Linked DNA regions of Homo sapiens: regions 2, 3, 4 and 5 are each linked to region 1. The links are contacts of gene promoters, found by promoter capture Hi-C in blood cells and fetal thymus (Javierre and others, 2016). All regions are on one chromosome and are shown on one strand. Each heading gives the region's core, a stretch centred on a gene start or on the middle of the fragment in contact. The rest is flanking DNA. Distances are from core to core; before and after follow the strand shown. Region 1 holds the start of MTERF1 (mitochondrial transcription termination factor 1). Region 2 overlaps VPS50 (VPS50 subunit of EARP/GARPII complex). Region 3 overlaps SAMD9 (sterile alpha motif domain containing 9). Region 4 holds the start of STEAP2-AS1 (STEAP2 antisense RNA 1). Region 5 holds the start of CDK14 (cyclin dependent kinase 14).

The links. The method cuts DNA at HindIII sites, captures the fragments that hold promoters and counts their contacts. A CHiCAGO score of 5 or more calls a contact.
Region 2: a fragment that was not itself captured here is called in contact with the fragment with the promoter of MTERF1 in region 1 in 2 of 17 cell types (total CD8 T cells and fetal thymus); the score reaches 5.8 in total CD8 T cells.
Region 3: a fragment that was not itself captured here is called in contact with the fragment with the promoter of MTERF1 in region 1 in 1 of 17 cell types (fetal thymus); the score reaches 6.2 in fetal thymus.
Region 4: a contact is called between the fragment with the promoter of STEAP2-AS1 here and the fragment with the promoter of MTERF1 in region 1, in 1 of 17 cell types (monocytes). The highest score is 5.1, in monocytes.
Region 5: a contact is called between the fragment with the promoter of CDK14 here and the fragment with the promoter of MTERF1 in region 1, in 1 of 17 cell types (total B cells). The highest score is 5.2, in total B cells.

The regions. Positions count from the first base shown.
Region 1 is chr7:91,879,285-91,881,984 of GRCh38, forward strand. MTERF1 (mitochondrial transcription termination factor 1) reads right to left here and starts at 1,418. Exons shown (of 3, transcript NM_006980.5): 1 at 1,373-1,418; 2 at 771-829. The coding sequence starts at 799. It overlaps LOC112267986 (a long non-coding RNA gene), which reads left to right and starts at 1,518. Exons shown (of 2, transcript XR_002956514.2): 1 at 1,518-1,580. The HindIII fragment of the contact is 3,297 bases long and covers 1-2,174 here.
Region 2 is chr7:93,240,720-93,243,419 of GRCh38, forward strand. All of the region lies in intron 2 of VPS50 (VPS50 subunit of EARP/GARPII complex), which reads left to right. Among named protein-coding and RNA genes, the nearest start is that of VPS50, 9.7 kb to the left of the region's middle. The HindIII fragment of the contact is 916 bases long and covers 822-1,737 here.
Region 3 is chr7:93,114,409-93,117,108 of GRCh38, forward strand. It overlaps SAMD9 (sterile alpha motif domain containing 9), which reads right to left. Exons shown (of 3, transcript NM_017654.4): 2 at 387-487. Among named protein-coding and RNA genes, the nearest start is that of SAMD9, 2.2 kb to the right of the region's middle. The HindIII fragment of the contact is 1,469 bases long and covers 599-2,067 here.
Region 4 is chr7:90,210,269-90,212,968 of GRCh38, forward strand. It overlaps STEAP2-AS1 (STEAP2 antisense RNA 1), which reads right to left and starts at 1,367. Exons shown (of 3, transcript NR_110029.2): 1 at 1,032-1,367. It overlaps STEAP2 (STEAP2 metalloreductase), which reads left to right and starts at 1,472. Exons shown (of 6, transcript NM_001244944.2): 1 at 1,472-1,777. RefSeq lists a silencer at 1,575-1,634. The HindIII fragment of the contact is 5,296 bases long and covers 1-2,700 here.
Region 5 is chr7:90,595,037-90,597,736 of GRCh38, forward strand. It overlaps CDK14 (cyclin dependent kinase 14), which reads left to right and starts at 1,285. Exons shown (of 15, transcript NM_001287135.2): 1 at 1,285-1,682. The coding sequence starts at 1,592. RefSeq lists silencers at 893-1,092, 1,113-1,422, 1,613-1,812, 1,873-1,922. The HindIII fragment of the contact is 4,165 bases long and covers 530-2,700 here.

The sequences.
Region 1 (2,700 bases), core at 168-2,667:
AAAGGTGCCAAAAATAAAGGCCGATCTACTGCAATCAAAAGATGTCAGATATTCTACATGACAAACTGCTTAACAGTATGGATAATGCCATGTATATTAAAGGCGGGGAGGGGGACGTTAATATATACAGAGGGGGAAAGTGGAATGACACTTATTTCTGAAAGATTATTAGAGGCTATGTACTACTTCTGAAATACTGGGACTTTATTTAATGAATATGTGTTACTTTGCAGTCAGATGAAAAAATTTAAACAAGTAAAACTGGCCTTTGGTGTGAAAAACAATGGAAAATACAAATTATCTTTATCTATTTTTCGGTTTCTAGTACCAAAAAAGTCACACTTCAAAATTCTCCATGATGCTTTACTCTTAGCAACGGATCTCCATTCAAAATACTCATAATATCTAGTAGGGTAAATGAACATCTAAATAGCCTAATACAAGAAAGTTAGCAACTTTCCTCACGTACAAATTTCAAAAATGGTACCTATTCAAAAATTGACTTCGATCTATTTCTCAAATTGACTTTTTAATTAACCAAAACCATTATCCAAAGGGCTAATGTTCAAACTTAACAAACACTGAAAATTTCTATGCTTGTAGTATGAGGGGTCTAAAAAAAGATTTACGTTCGCCTCTGCCCCACAACTGGCCTGTTAAAAAGGCTGTTAATGGAAATAACTAATCACTGGCCCTAAAATACCACATTCCAGCTGGTCTTCTTTTGATACAGCAAGCTAAGTTTGGAGATCTTTACATGCATTTCTCACCTTGTTTGTCCTAAGGAAAGGCTCTGCATCCCTCCAGAAAGGCTGGAGAACAGCTATCTCTGGAAATGACACACACACACAAAAAAAAGGCAAAATATTTCAGGCCTTCCTAATACAAAATAAGAGATCGATCCCAGCTAACGTTCTCGTTGCATTATGTTCTCGTGAGATGCATTACCTCTTGCAAACAACATTTCTCAGACATACAGAAAAGAAAACGGCAAGTACATGCCTACATATGATGGGAAAAGGTAGCGGAATCACGAATACGTTTTGTACCAAAGCTAAGTGCTTCATATATATTGTCTCGCTTTACTCCCCACAACAATTTAAAAGGTAGGCATAAGCCTTAAAATTACAAAATCTGAAACAGCGCCGAGCTCCCATACTAGCCTGCCTTCGCTAGCTGAAGCATTAGGGTTCGAACCCAGGTGGGTCTTTCTTAACTCAAAACCAAGGTAATTCCACACCGAAGGCTCTTTCCATCCCTCTTCCTCCTCCAAAGACAAATCTGCAAAGGGCTGCACTGTACAGCAGTCACCCACACCCACTTCTTAACAAAAAGAAAGGAAAGCACAGCCTCACCACCTTCCCAATCTCACCCTGAACTGCACCCATCCACTGTAGTTCGCTTTTACTTCCGCCTCTGGGGTCCGGAGCGGCTAGGAGGAGCGGAAGTGGAAAAGACTAACTTCCGGCCTCGGGTCGCGCGCAGAGGTGATGTCGTTGGTCCTGCGCCCCCTCGTGGCGGTACTTCAGCCCTTCGCAGCCCGACGCTAGGGGCCTGGCAGGGGGCAGCAAGAGACCGCGGTGAGCGCGGGGTATTGAACGCCAAAGAAGGGGTTTGGAGGGTGGGGTGGGGCCTGGGACTCCCAGTCGCCTGGGCAGATGTCCGTGGGGAACTGTAAGGCATCTTATAGGGATCCTACAGGGGGCATCCACTGCCGGCCGACGACACGTGGTGGAAAAGTAGCTATTATTTACATGCGTGTTGCAGTTTTTGATAATGCGATTGCTGCTGCTAATGTGACTAACGCGATGCCGATGAACATCTCGGCGTTTTTTGGTGCAGGATAAGCGGGTGTAGACTCTGTCTGTTTAGTCCCAGATTCTCCTCCTTTAATGAACTACCGTGGAAATCCTGGAGTGTCACTGCTGGTCTGAATTCAGCATCCGCCTTCAGGCTGGAAATCAATTCTAGTATACTTCGATTTCCTTACTTGCAGTTCGAATTCAAATATGATTCTTTTGACATTGTGAGGGTTTGCGCTATTTAAAGAATGGAGGCAACCGAAACCTCATCTCCACAGTGGATGCATTTTTGCTCCCTCCCGAGGCGTTGCCTTAAGCCACGCGGTCCTGTCAGCCTCACCTGCCTAGTGATGGTGACAATGGAAGAGATAAAGCTTCAATTCAAGGCACTTCTCCTGTGACCATCAAAAGAAAGATAATATCTACATTAATGAATTAATTGTGTCTGTCGAGTTATCCTCAGGAGACGATGGTGATTTGGTCCTTAAAAAAACACAGGATCAACAGGATTGACCCTGAATTCTACAAAGAGGAAAAATTTCAGGCATTACTAACTCCTCCATGTACAAGCCTAATGATGTAATTTTCTGGCCGGGCGCGATGGCTCATGCCTGTAATCCCAGCACTTTGGGAGGCCAAGGCGGGAGGATGGCTTGAGGCCAGGAGTTCGAGACCAGCCTGGCCAACATGGTGAAACCCCATCTCTACAAAAAGTACAAACATTAGCCAGGCGTGGTCACAGGTGCCTGTAGTCCCAGCTACTTGGGAGGCTAAGGTGGGAGAATCACCTGAGCCTGGGAGGTTGAGGCTGCAGTGAGCCGTGATTGTGCCACTACACTCTAGCCTGGGTGACACAGTGAACCTTGTCTCAAGAAAGAAAAAGAATTTTCTTTATCCC
Region 2 (2,700 bases), core at 30-2,529, 1.4 Mb after region 1:
TTGAATACACAGGGTGTGCTTCTCTTGATCAGCAGTTTAAGGCCTCTCCTTACACCTCGGTGTCAGCTCCTTAGGAGGATGATTTCTCATCTCTTTCAGGTGCCTTACCTGCTAAAGTGAATTTTGTATTTACTGCATTGTTTTTATTTTGGGTTAGGCTGAAACATATTCTCCAAATGCAATAAAATTATAACCAACCCTTTTGCATGAAATGGTTCAGACAAAAACTTAAGAAAAGCATTCCGTATAGTTTTATGTAATGTTATTAAAAATTAATGACTATGAAAAGGTTGGGAAACAAGAGATAGCCATAAATCCTAATTAATTGACAATAATTCTCTTTATTTCTTTGAGTTAAGAAAAAGATTATCATGCATTATGAACATACCTTGAATTAGATTGTATTACATATTGCAGAATCAATGTCAAATTGATGAGTGAGCCTCTTTAAAAAAATACATTACAGTCTTAACAAGAACTTTCTGTTGTGTTTCCACCATGAGCCATGATGTTTTCCCAGTACTGGTTGGTAGTGAATATGGTGATCTCATTACAAAGTCTTCTTATTAAATGTACACCCCTAGCTCCATCAGTGACCAGTGCTGTCTGTACTTTTAGGATAACTGGCCTTGGGTGGAGTGGCCAGTCTGGGATCACAAGGTCAGCAAATATAAATGGTTCAGGTGAAGAGTAAGCCTAAAGCACTGGTCTCTTTAGCACATACTAAGAAGCTAAGTTAGTTAAATAATAAAACAGTTAATAGTAAAAAATGTATTGATGCTATAAGCTTACATTTAACCTTACACTAAGAAATCCCTACAAGCTTCATCTGCCTGTTTGTTTTTTCTGTGTTCTCCTATAGCATAACAAATGATGGAGGGTGAGCAGAGCTTCTGCCTTCTTTCTGGGTGGTTCTGAGAACATGAGAGTTGCTGGGTCCAGAGAGTGGCAAAGCTCCAGTCAGTAAACTGAGTCTTTGGATGAGGTTTGAAGTCAGTACTGAGATCAGGAGTTAAGAAGACTCATATTCAGAAATTCCCTACACAGCATAGCTTGATGTAGCTTTAATGTTCAGTATTTTTTCACAATTTAGATAAGACTTTATACTTAGATCATAACACATATATTTTAATGATTTATTTTTGTATAATTGCTTTGAAATTAATGTTGTTGCTAGTTCTTGATGACCTGAAATTTGATGTAATTGAAGAAGATCTTTAAGATCTTTTAAAATTAAGATTAAAAGCATTTTAACAAAATGGAAAATGTTAATTCAAATGATTATTTTGAAATAACTTTTGCTTTAAATATAAAATTAATGTATGCTCTAAACAGAAAACATGGTAAACGGAAAAAGGTATCTTAAAAAAAAAATCACAAAAATCACCAACACTGTCAAGGTTAACATTGCCTACTGGTCTTTTCCCTATGCATATTCCACAAATTTATTGAGTTTCTATGTGCTAGAGATACTTTCTAGGGATTGGCAGTATAGCAGTGAAAAGACAAAAGTTCTCTCCAAAAGTCAAAACTTCCCTGCTGTCAGACAGCGAGCTTACATTCAAGCAGGGGTAAGGCGATTACAGATTATAATACTGTGAAGGAAACAGGGCGATGAGATAAACTCCTTGAAATTGGCAGTTATTTTACAGGAAGTAGTCAGTATAGCTTTTTATAATGGTATTATAAGTTATACAACCTTTTAAAAATGGTATCATACTCTAGAAATTATTTGGAAGCTTGGGTTTTTAACTTGGTGATATATATATATATATAACATAGAAAATTCTCACAGTATATTCTAGGTTTAAAAAGCAAGGTACCCATTAGTTTTGCTTAGGGGAGTACTCTTTGAACTTAACAATTTGTGCTATTTAAGTAGTCACTGTTAATTCTTATATGGAAAACTTATAAACATTAACTTCATTTAATAGCTCTGCCTCACTTATAACTGTAGGTACAACTTTTAAAAAACATATGCCTGGTCTTCAGGAATCGGCTCCTTTCTTTTCATAGTATCTTTCTAAGTTAGGACAGGGAATTGAGAGATTTCAGTGGCATTTTCAAGAAAGAAATAGGTTAGTTTGGGTTCTGTTACATGAAAAGGTTCCAGTATAAAGGATAAGTAGGAGAAAAATGTTAGGATAAATGATGGCTGTTTAAGTTTAAAATGGTCAAATATTGGCAAATTGTATGTGCTTCAACTTGCTAGAAAAAGGAGGGTAGTGAAGGAGAACTGAAGGGCACTAGGTGTGCTTGATAAGCCAGATGGTATTATTTATTTATTTATTTTAGAACTATATAAATTCAAAGTGGGAAGAAACTGTATAAACCATCTGGTACAATTTCTGCATTTTATAGACAATCTGATCCTGTGCCCGATTTTAAGAGCAGATGCAAGTCAAATGGTAATCTATATACTGGAAATTTGGAATTTGGGTGGATAAAATAGTATAGAAAAGTAGAAAACATTTAAGGTTCTTTTCAGAACTTGCTAGAGGAAAGGAAACTTTTAGACAGATTTCAGGAATTTTAGCTTAAATAGCTCAGAGCCAAGATCAGTGGTGCCCAAACTTTGCTGTACATTTAGAATCAACAGTCCCCAGGCCATGGCCAATTCCAATTAAATCACCGTTTTTGGGTGGAGGCAAGTGTCAGTAATATTTAGAGATTCCCTGGTAATTCCAGTGTAGAGCCAGG
Region 3 (2,700 bases), core at 83-2,582, 1.2 Mb after region 1:
TGCACGTTGTGCACATGTACCCTAGAACTTAAAGTATAGTTTTTTAAAAAAGGAGGAATGACTGAAAATCATGAACCTAATGCCAGTTTAATAAATTGAAAGAAGAATAACAGAATAAAACTGAAATAAGAAGAATGAGAAAAATAAAGATAAGAGCAGGAATTTATAAAGTGGAAAACAAAATGACAAGAGAGACTCAGTGAAGTCCAAGAGCTGTTTAGATAAAAAGTAATAAAATTGACACATCCATGGAATGATTAACCAAAAAATAAAAAAGAAAGGTGGCACAAATAAGCAATATTAGAAACTTTAAAAATGAACCAACTTTAACTGAATAAATTGAAAACTGAGATTAATTGAGCAAATTCTTAAAAAATATAGCTTACCAAACTGACTCTAGAAGAAACCGAAGAAGTCTCACTTCCAGGGTGATGTAGGAGATCACAAAAGGCCACCTATTCACCCACTGCAACCATGAGATCAAAATCTGAAAAATTGCAAAACTCATATTTTTAAGTAATCACAAAGTCATCAATAGACCAGATGACAAGGACTGGATGAACTAAAATTCCAGAGAGGAAAGATCCCTGTCTATGTAAGCTTTGGGGGCATTTGTTGATTTGGGGTTGGGTTTAAGGATTAGACTTGGCCTACCGGGAGGAGGAAAACCAGTGGGGATTTTCATAGTCACAGGGGCGGGTCTAATGAAGTGCAATTAGAAGTGTTCCAAAATGTTTACCGTAATGGAAATGCAAAGTAAAATTACAACAAGATAATACTACATGCCTACCAGAATGGCTAAAATTAAAGACTGTTAATGCCAAATGTTGGTGATGATGTGGAGTCAGTGGAGCTCTCATATGCTGTCTGTGGGAATGTACATTGTTTTAGCCACTTCAAGAAACTATCAGTTTTTGTGAAGTTAAATATATACCTACTCTTTGGATCTGCAATTCTCATGAAAATTATTAAAGTACTGATACAGGCAACAACATGAATGAATATCACATCATACTGTGTGAAAGAAGCCAGTTACAACAGAAAACATATTGTAGAATTCTACTTATATAGTTTAAGAATAGGCAAAAGTAATCTGTCATAGAAGTCAGACTGATGTTGGGGGGTGGATATTTTCTGGGAAGGGGTGATGGAAATATTTTATATCTTGATATGGCTAGCGGTTGCACAGATAAGTACATATTAAAATTTCATAAAGGCTTACCCTTAAGTTTGTTCATTGTATACAAGTTATACTGTATTTAAAAAGCCAATAATGCCTCCAAAATACATTAGAAAATAAAACGGATGAATAAAATAAAAGAGATACTTGCATAAAAAAGATGATGGTGTGTTATGAATCAAGGATAATTGTGAATTCAATGGTATGTGAGGTCCTAAAGTTTTACTAGGTGTTTATTATTGCAGTCTCAGATTATGAACTTTTGACTTCTGCATCCCACTCAGTGTTGATTCAATACTGGTTTTAGAGTTGTCTAAAAACTGACTACACCCTCGTCTAGTAACCATTCTATCTGAGTCACTTTCTTGTATCCATTTACTGAGTCACGTCTACTCCACCCTATGAAAGTATGCTCACTTTTGTTGCACCCACACTATTTAACACATAAAGCAGGGGTCCCCGATTATTGTGCTGCTAGCGTGCGCTGGCTCCTGAGGCCTCATACCTATGGCTCTCATCCCCCATCTCGCCGCTTCCCACCAGTACCCTTTTCCTAGGGTCTCCCTGACTTCCTTCATCAACTTGGACCTTTCACAGTTTTACAGACACAGTCCTTAGTCTCTGGTGATATGTCATAAACTAGATTATGAGACTGGTGAATTAGATGGATTATTTGATTCATGCAAGAACTACATACCATTATATGTGAAAACGTAAAGTCAGGTTCTCATATAAGAGTGTGGGGGATGGAGAACTGGGCCTGAACATTTGGTTGGGAAAGTAAGCAAATAATAAAGAAGTGACTTTTGACTGTTTTCTCTACTAGAGACACTATGAATATTTCAAATGTCATTGAACAGGTTACACTTTCACACTTCTTCCCCTAAAGCTTTTGTCAGATTATTGATAGCTGTGCCTTTCAATACATTATTTTAAAAAAATTGTTGATGATGTCACTCTTGGAGAAAATATATGCCAGCATTCATAGGTATTTATGCCACTGTTCATAGATATTTTACATATTAATGATTTCTTTATACCCTCTCGTTCCAAAATGTTTTTTAGGTAATTTAGAAAGTAATATAGGATCACACATATATTAAAACCCTTAGGTAAAGAAATCATGGGGAAGGCTAAATAAGGGTAGGGGGAGAAAAGGTGAAATGAGGGAGTAAAATTAGTACCTAAAATTACTGGTTTTGATTCCGTATACTTTAAAAACTGACCTGAAAATTTGGTTCTGAGCATCTTAGTAGGAAACACTATTTGTTACTGATTGAACCCACATACATTTTTTAACTCTGGTTGGTGTTAAACTGTAGGGTTTGTTAACTTTTCTAGAAGGGAGTTGAAGGTCAGACCTTTATTCAGAAATGTGATCCTCCAACCGTCTTGCATTATCTTACTGTTTGCTTTGGGGAGAAATTAGACATAAACCTAGTATTTTTGCCAGGAACATAAAGCTGCCTTAATTCCAAAGACTTCCCATAGTAGTCTATCTGTCTGTCTGTCTTCCTATG
Region 4 (2,700 bases), core at 117-2,616, 1.7 Mb before region 1:
AAAGTGCAATTTCTTTTAATATCCCCGTGGGGAAGTTATATAATTCTATAGTTTTTTAAAATATATGGAAAAGCAATATACTTTCCGTTAACTGCTAAGATTCATGAATTTTCTCCACAAGTTCTCCAGAGGAACTACTAGAAAAAACTCCACGAATCTCATTATTTGACAGTTTTGTTGAAGTGAAATTATTAAAATTGATATTAGATTTAATGACTTGTTTCCAGTAACCAAAATGGAAAGTATTCTACCAGCTGTCGATGGTTCCACACCCTGACACATCGTTAAAACCTTAGCTTCTGCCTAAACTTTAAACCTTAATAATATTTGGCGGTAGGGGAGGGGTTACATTTCAAGTCAAACAAAGGATGTATTTCCAAAGCAGCATTTACAAAGGTTAATCTGTGTATGGACTACAAAGGGGAAAGTGCAGTGCCCCAGTGATCGATCTAAGACCCCCCTCTCGTTGTTGTTGTTGTTGGGTTTTTTTGGTCTGGTTAATAAACCACCTAGAGGGATAATTTTTAAACTTAATTTGTTGAAATGGTACTTTACTAATGTATGAAAAAAATTTCCCCAAATTTGAGAATTTTTGGTAAGTTGATTTTATATTTGGGAATAAAGATCTCTTGCTTCTTCTACTGACACCTTCTACACAAAAGATAAAAGGTACTTTTACTTGGTAATCCGCAGGGAGAAAATTTACAGAAACCCAGAGCCAAAGGTGCTCTCAGGGGATCCCCTGAAACATTCAAAGCCATTGCGGCCCCAGAAGGTAAATGGCTTTCGCAGGAACACAGGTCTCCTGACTCACGGCCTAACCTTCCTTTCCCCCACACCAAAGCTCGCGCGGCACCAGCTAGAGTGAAGGTCAAAGTCAACAGAATAATCTCTGCAGTCCAGGGTCTGTGAGGGTCCTCCTATCCGAGGGAGTTTTCATGAAAGGGCATTTCCGAACATTTTATTCCAAGGACACAGTCTAGTCAAAAGACGTTTGGGATAGGGTAAACATGAGGCAAAAGAACACTTACAAAAGAAAAAAGCGCAGTTTCTTGGAGGCTTGTCAGAAGCTAAGACTGGGGAGATGAGAACCAGGGCCCTTGGCGAGAGTTGGGGTGGGAATCGCGTAAGAAAAGCAATTTCTAGAGCGGAAAGGTGACCCCACATTACAAAAAGAAATGGAGTAGAAAAATAGGCTTGACTATTCTAAAGCTGCTTCAGAAAGAATCTCCGGAAGACCACGGAGGAACCCCGCAGGGGAGCCAGGCGGATACTCAGCCGCTCGCGGTAGAAGGGCGCGCAAAGCTGCGGAGCCGCGTGTGTGGAGCTCCCCAGTGCACTCACTGCTGGCTCCCCCTCGGTGCTCTGGGCCCTTCCCAGCTCCCTCCACACAGCCCGGCTCCCTTCACACACCCCCGCCCCCTCCGAGCTCCCCGACTCCTCCCCGCGCTCCACGGCTCTTCCCGACTCCAGTCAGCGTTCCTCGGGCCCTCGGCGCCACGAGCTGTCCGGGCACGCAGCCCCTAGCGGCGCGTCGCTGCCAAGCCGGCCTCCGCGCGCCTCCCTCCTTCCTTCTCCCCTGGCTGTTCGCGATCCAGCTTGGGTAGGCGGGGAAGCAGCTGGAGTGCGACCGCCGCGGCAGCCACCCTGCAACCGCCAGTCGGAGGTGCAGTCCGTAGGCCCTGGCCCCCGGGTGGGCCCTTGGGGAGTCGGCGCCGCTCCCGGGGAGCTGCAAGGCTCGCCCCTGCCCGGCGTGGAGGGCGCGGGGGGCGCGGAGGTGAGCGGGTCGGGGAGGAGCGCGAAAGAAGGTAGCGGCGGCGGAGTTGAGGGTCAAGATGCAGTCTGCGCCACGCGCTGCATCCATCCTCCCCGATTCTGCGCCCTCACCGGGCGTCCGCCCTGAGCTGCGGGGTCCCTCATCTCCTGGCACCTTAAGGTGGAAAGTGAGAAGGGTGGAGAAGGGTGTCTGTTCCACTGATTCCCCCTCCTCCTCCTCTTGGTTCCTAGAGCTAAGGGCAAGTCCTGAGGTTGGGCCCAGGAGAAAGAAGGCAAGGAGACATTGTCCCAGGTAGGATGTGTCCCAGCAGGAAAGGACAGGCAGGTTACTTTCGCCCCCTTGATAGTCTCCCTGCTACTTTGGGTTGATGCAGGGCATTTCATGGAAGATCATGCAGTGCTGCTTTGCGAACAGGTATTTCTAGCAGTCATTTGGTTTATTTCCCAGTAATGTAATCGTGGTGTTTAGGCCATTTCTGTTAGAAAGTAATTGGCCTCTTCTTTGACTGTCCTAAATTATCTTTGAACCCTGTGTTCAGCCTCAGCCAAAACTTGTTGAAAATTATGCCCTAAAAATCTTGCTCTTAAAATAGAGCAGAGAGATAAAGAGCATTTTTGTTGGAAGATTTCCATTTATTATCTCTCCCACCCCGTGGAGAAGGATTGGTGTCAGTTTTTACTCCTCGGGCAGTTAGTTTTTTAGATGGAAAGACAGTCCAGGCCATAGTTAATTATCGCTCATCAGTATAGGAGAAAAAGAATTCAGACTCCTGCCCCACCCCCACCCCCACCCCCAACCTCCTGACTTAGATTCTGGTCCTTTTAACAGCCCCGCTGCTTGGAACCCTTTTTGTTTTCTAAACCACCTCCCCATCCTTCCTTTTCTCCACTTTATTATTTCTTCATTTTATTGATCTGTTTATT
Region 5 (2,700 bases), core at 35-2,534, 1.3 Mb before region 1:
TAACAAAACATAAACTCCCCAAAATTTCCTACAAGCCAAACAGCATTGTCACACCCTCACAAGCTCTTATTACTTACACAGCCAAATGACTCAAGATTACTAACGTTTCTATTCATAAGGAGTTTGCTGGCCTCAGATCAACACAATCAAGCCCTCCCCCACCTTCCTTCTCTCTCCCCTGGGAGACTGACGTTTGGAACTCACGCCGCACCAGGTTTTTTCAGAATGAAGACGATGTGTGTTCGCTGCTGGAACTGTTTGTCCTGGGATTTTATAAACACCTCCCCCACTCCTTTTTAAAGTTCTGTTTTTGAGGTGGGGGAAAAGGAGGTCGGAATCTGTTTAGCCTTTAAATCTCCCAATTCAGAAATATATTCTAAGAATTTAATAGAAAAAGACCAAGGGCTGTGTCTGCTATTTACTGCAGAACTGGGTATTCCTATCAGAAATCACCTACATGTGTCACCAAGATCAGAGACAAGGATGAGGGAAACAGCATGATCCCTGCCTTCTGGAGGGTTACAGTTGAAGCTTCCGCTGCTTCTGCACTTGACCTCAAAACAAACAAAAAACCCACCGCAAACAACAACAAAAAAATCCAGGCCCACCTTTCCCCTTGGATCTTTCACTTGACAGCTTTCTCGGCCCAAAATAAGGCACCCTACATCTGAATGCATCCCTAAGGCCTTACCGCACCCAGTCCAGGAGGCAGTCCTGGCAGCTGCCCTCCACCGAACTCCGCGCTTTTTCACACACGCTCGTGGAAGGAGAAAACCGCTCAAACAACTGGACTCGGCCCGTTTCCTTTCGGTAACCTCCCCACAGCCCAACACGCTGTCCCCAGACGCTGCCCGCTCCCACCCCGGTCCCTTCGTGATCCTCCCGCGCGCGGGCGGGGCGGGGGAGGAGCGCGGGGGCGGCCGGGAGGGGCGCGGCCGGGAGGGGGCGCCGCCGGGGCGCGAGCCAGACACAGAGGGCCGCGGAGGACGCGGGAGGCGAGCGGGGAGCCGAGGTCGTGCTAGGATCCCGCGCCCAGGGGCCTTCGTCGAGGGAGGGGCGTGGCGGCGGCAGCAGGAGGGCAGCAGGAGCTGTCAGGCTGGCGGTTCCGCGCCGCGGCTCCTTCTGCGCTGCGCCCGCAACTCTGGGCTGAGAACTTCTCCCGCCGGCCCACTCGCCCTCGCCCCGCGCACTCGGCGCCAGGCGACTCCCGCACCTTGTACCCGGCCCGCCCCGCCTCCTCCTTCGGCCGCACCACTCCCCCTGCCGGCCGCGCTTCTCTCCGTTACAAAGGAGGGAAAATGAGCCGGGCGGCGGCGGCGCGGCGCGGGGCCACCACGGCGGCGGCGAGCGCGGCCGCCCCCGGCACCACGTAAACCGCCCCCGCCCGCCCAGCTGCGGCCCAGGCCGGAGCGGAGCCTGCCGTCCTCCGCCTGCCTGCTGCTCGCCTCCCTAGACCTGCGCGTCGCTTCCCGGCCCGCCGAGGAGGTGGTGGAGGAGGAGGCGCCGCTTTCCCCGCGGCGCGCGCCCTCGCCGTTGTCTGAGCTGTGCCTGGACCAGTTTGGGGAAGTTGTCGGGGCTCCGCGTCGCCCAGATGTGTGACCTCATTGAGCCGCAGCCGGCCGAGAAGATCGGCAAGATGAAGAAGTTGCGGAGAACTTTGTCGGAGAGTTTCAGTCGCATTGGTGAGTAGCGCGCTGCCCCCGGCCCCCCCAGCGCCCGCTCCCCTCGGCCTGCGCCCCCGCCGCGTTCCTGGCACCAGCCATGCAGCTGCCAGCGGGGCTGGCGTGGGGTGCGTTGTAGGCGGGGATCGAGGGCACAGTGCTAGGGACCCGGGGGAGGGCAAGGACGTAAAGGAAAGAGACCCCTCTTCCTCAGGATCTGGGGGTTCATTTGTAGATTCTCTCAAGCCTACAATATGGGTTCTCCCCTCCTCCGCCACTAGTGCTCGCCCTTTCGCGCGCGTGGGGGACGGGCGAGGGGACCCCTCGGCCCCCACCGCGCAAGGGGCTGCGCGGCTGCTTGGGCCACTTGTTATTTTTTGCGCACAGGCTTGGATATTGGGCGTTTAGTCAGTAATTTAGCTTTGGAAATTGGTGAAACGTTAGACTGTGCCCTGGTATTGTTTAACGTATCCAACCTAAAGGGAAGTGGGACAGTTACCTTGGGACCTATTGTTCGGTACTTCGGGTCCTGGAAAGCGAGATTTGGGTGTTCAGTCTCGAGGTCTCTGAATCTTCCCGCTGCTGGAGAGAAATGCGCGCTGTGGAGTTGTCTGGACATTTAGGAATGTCTCTCGAACTTGTTCCATTTAATAGAGCTCAGGGGCTGTTGTCTTTAAACCAAACAACAAACCAACTGACCAACAGTGTTTAGGACAGTGACGAATAAATGCATGTCACAGGTTGTAATAGGGTGACAGCAGTATCACGTGGAATGGGTTTGTTAGATTTTGAGTACTGGGCATAGAAAACCCCTTTTAACCTGAAGAGTTAGCTGCCTCCCCTACTGTCACAACTTTCACTAATAACATGTAACTGCCCTGAGCAAGAGAATGCTATAGACACAAAAGATAACCCCTGCGAGTCCCTAGGAAGCTGCCTAGTCTTTGTTTCACTTGTTTTAAATGTCATCCATGTTAACGAAAGTGTTAATGGAAATTAAACATAAAGGTACTTAATTCCTTAAAATAAAACCCTGGGA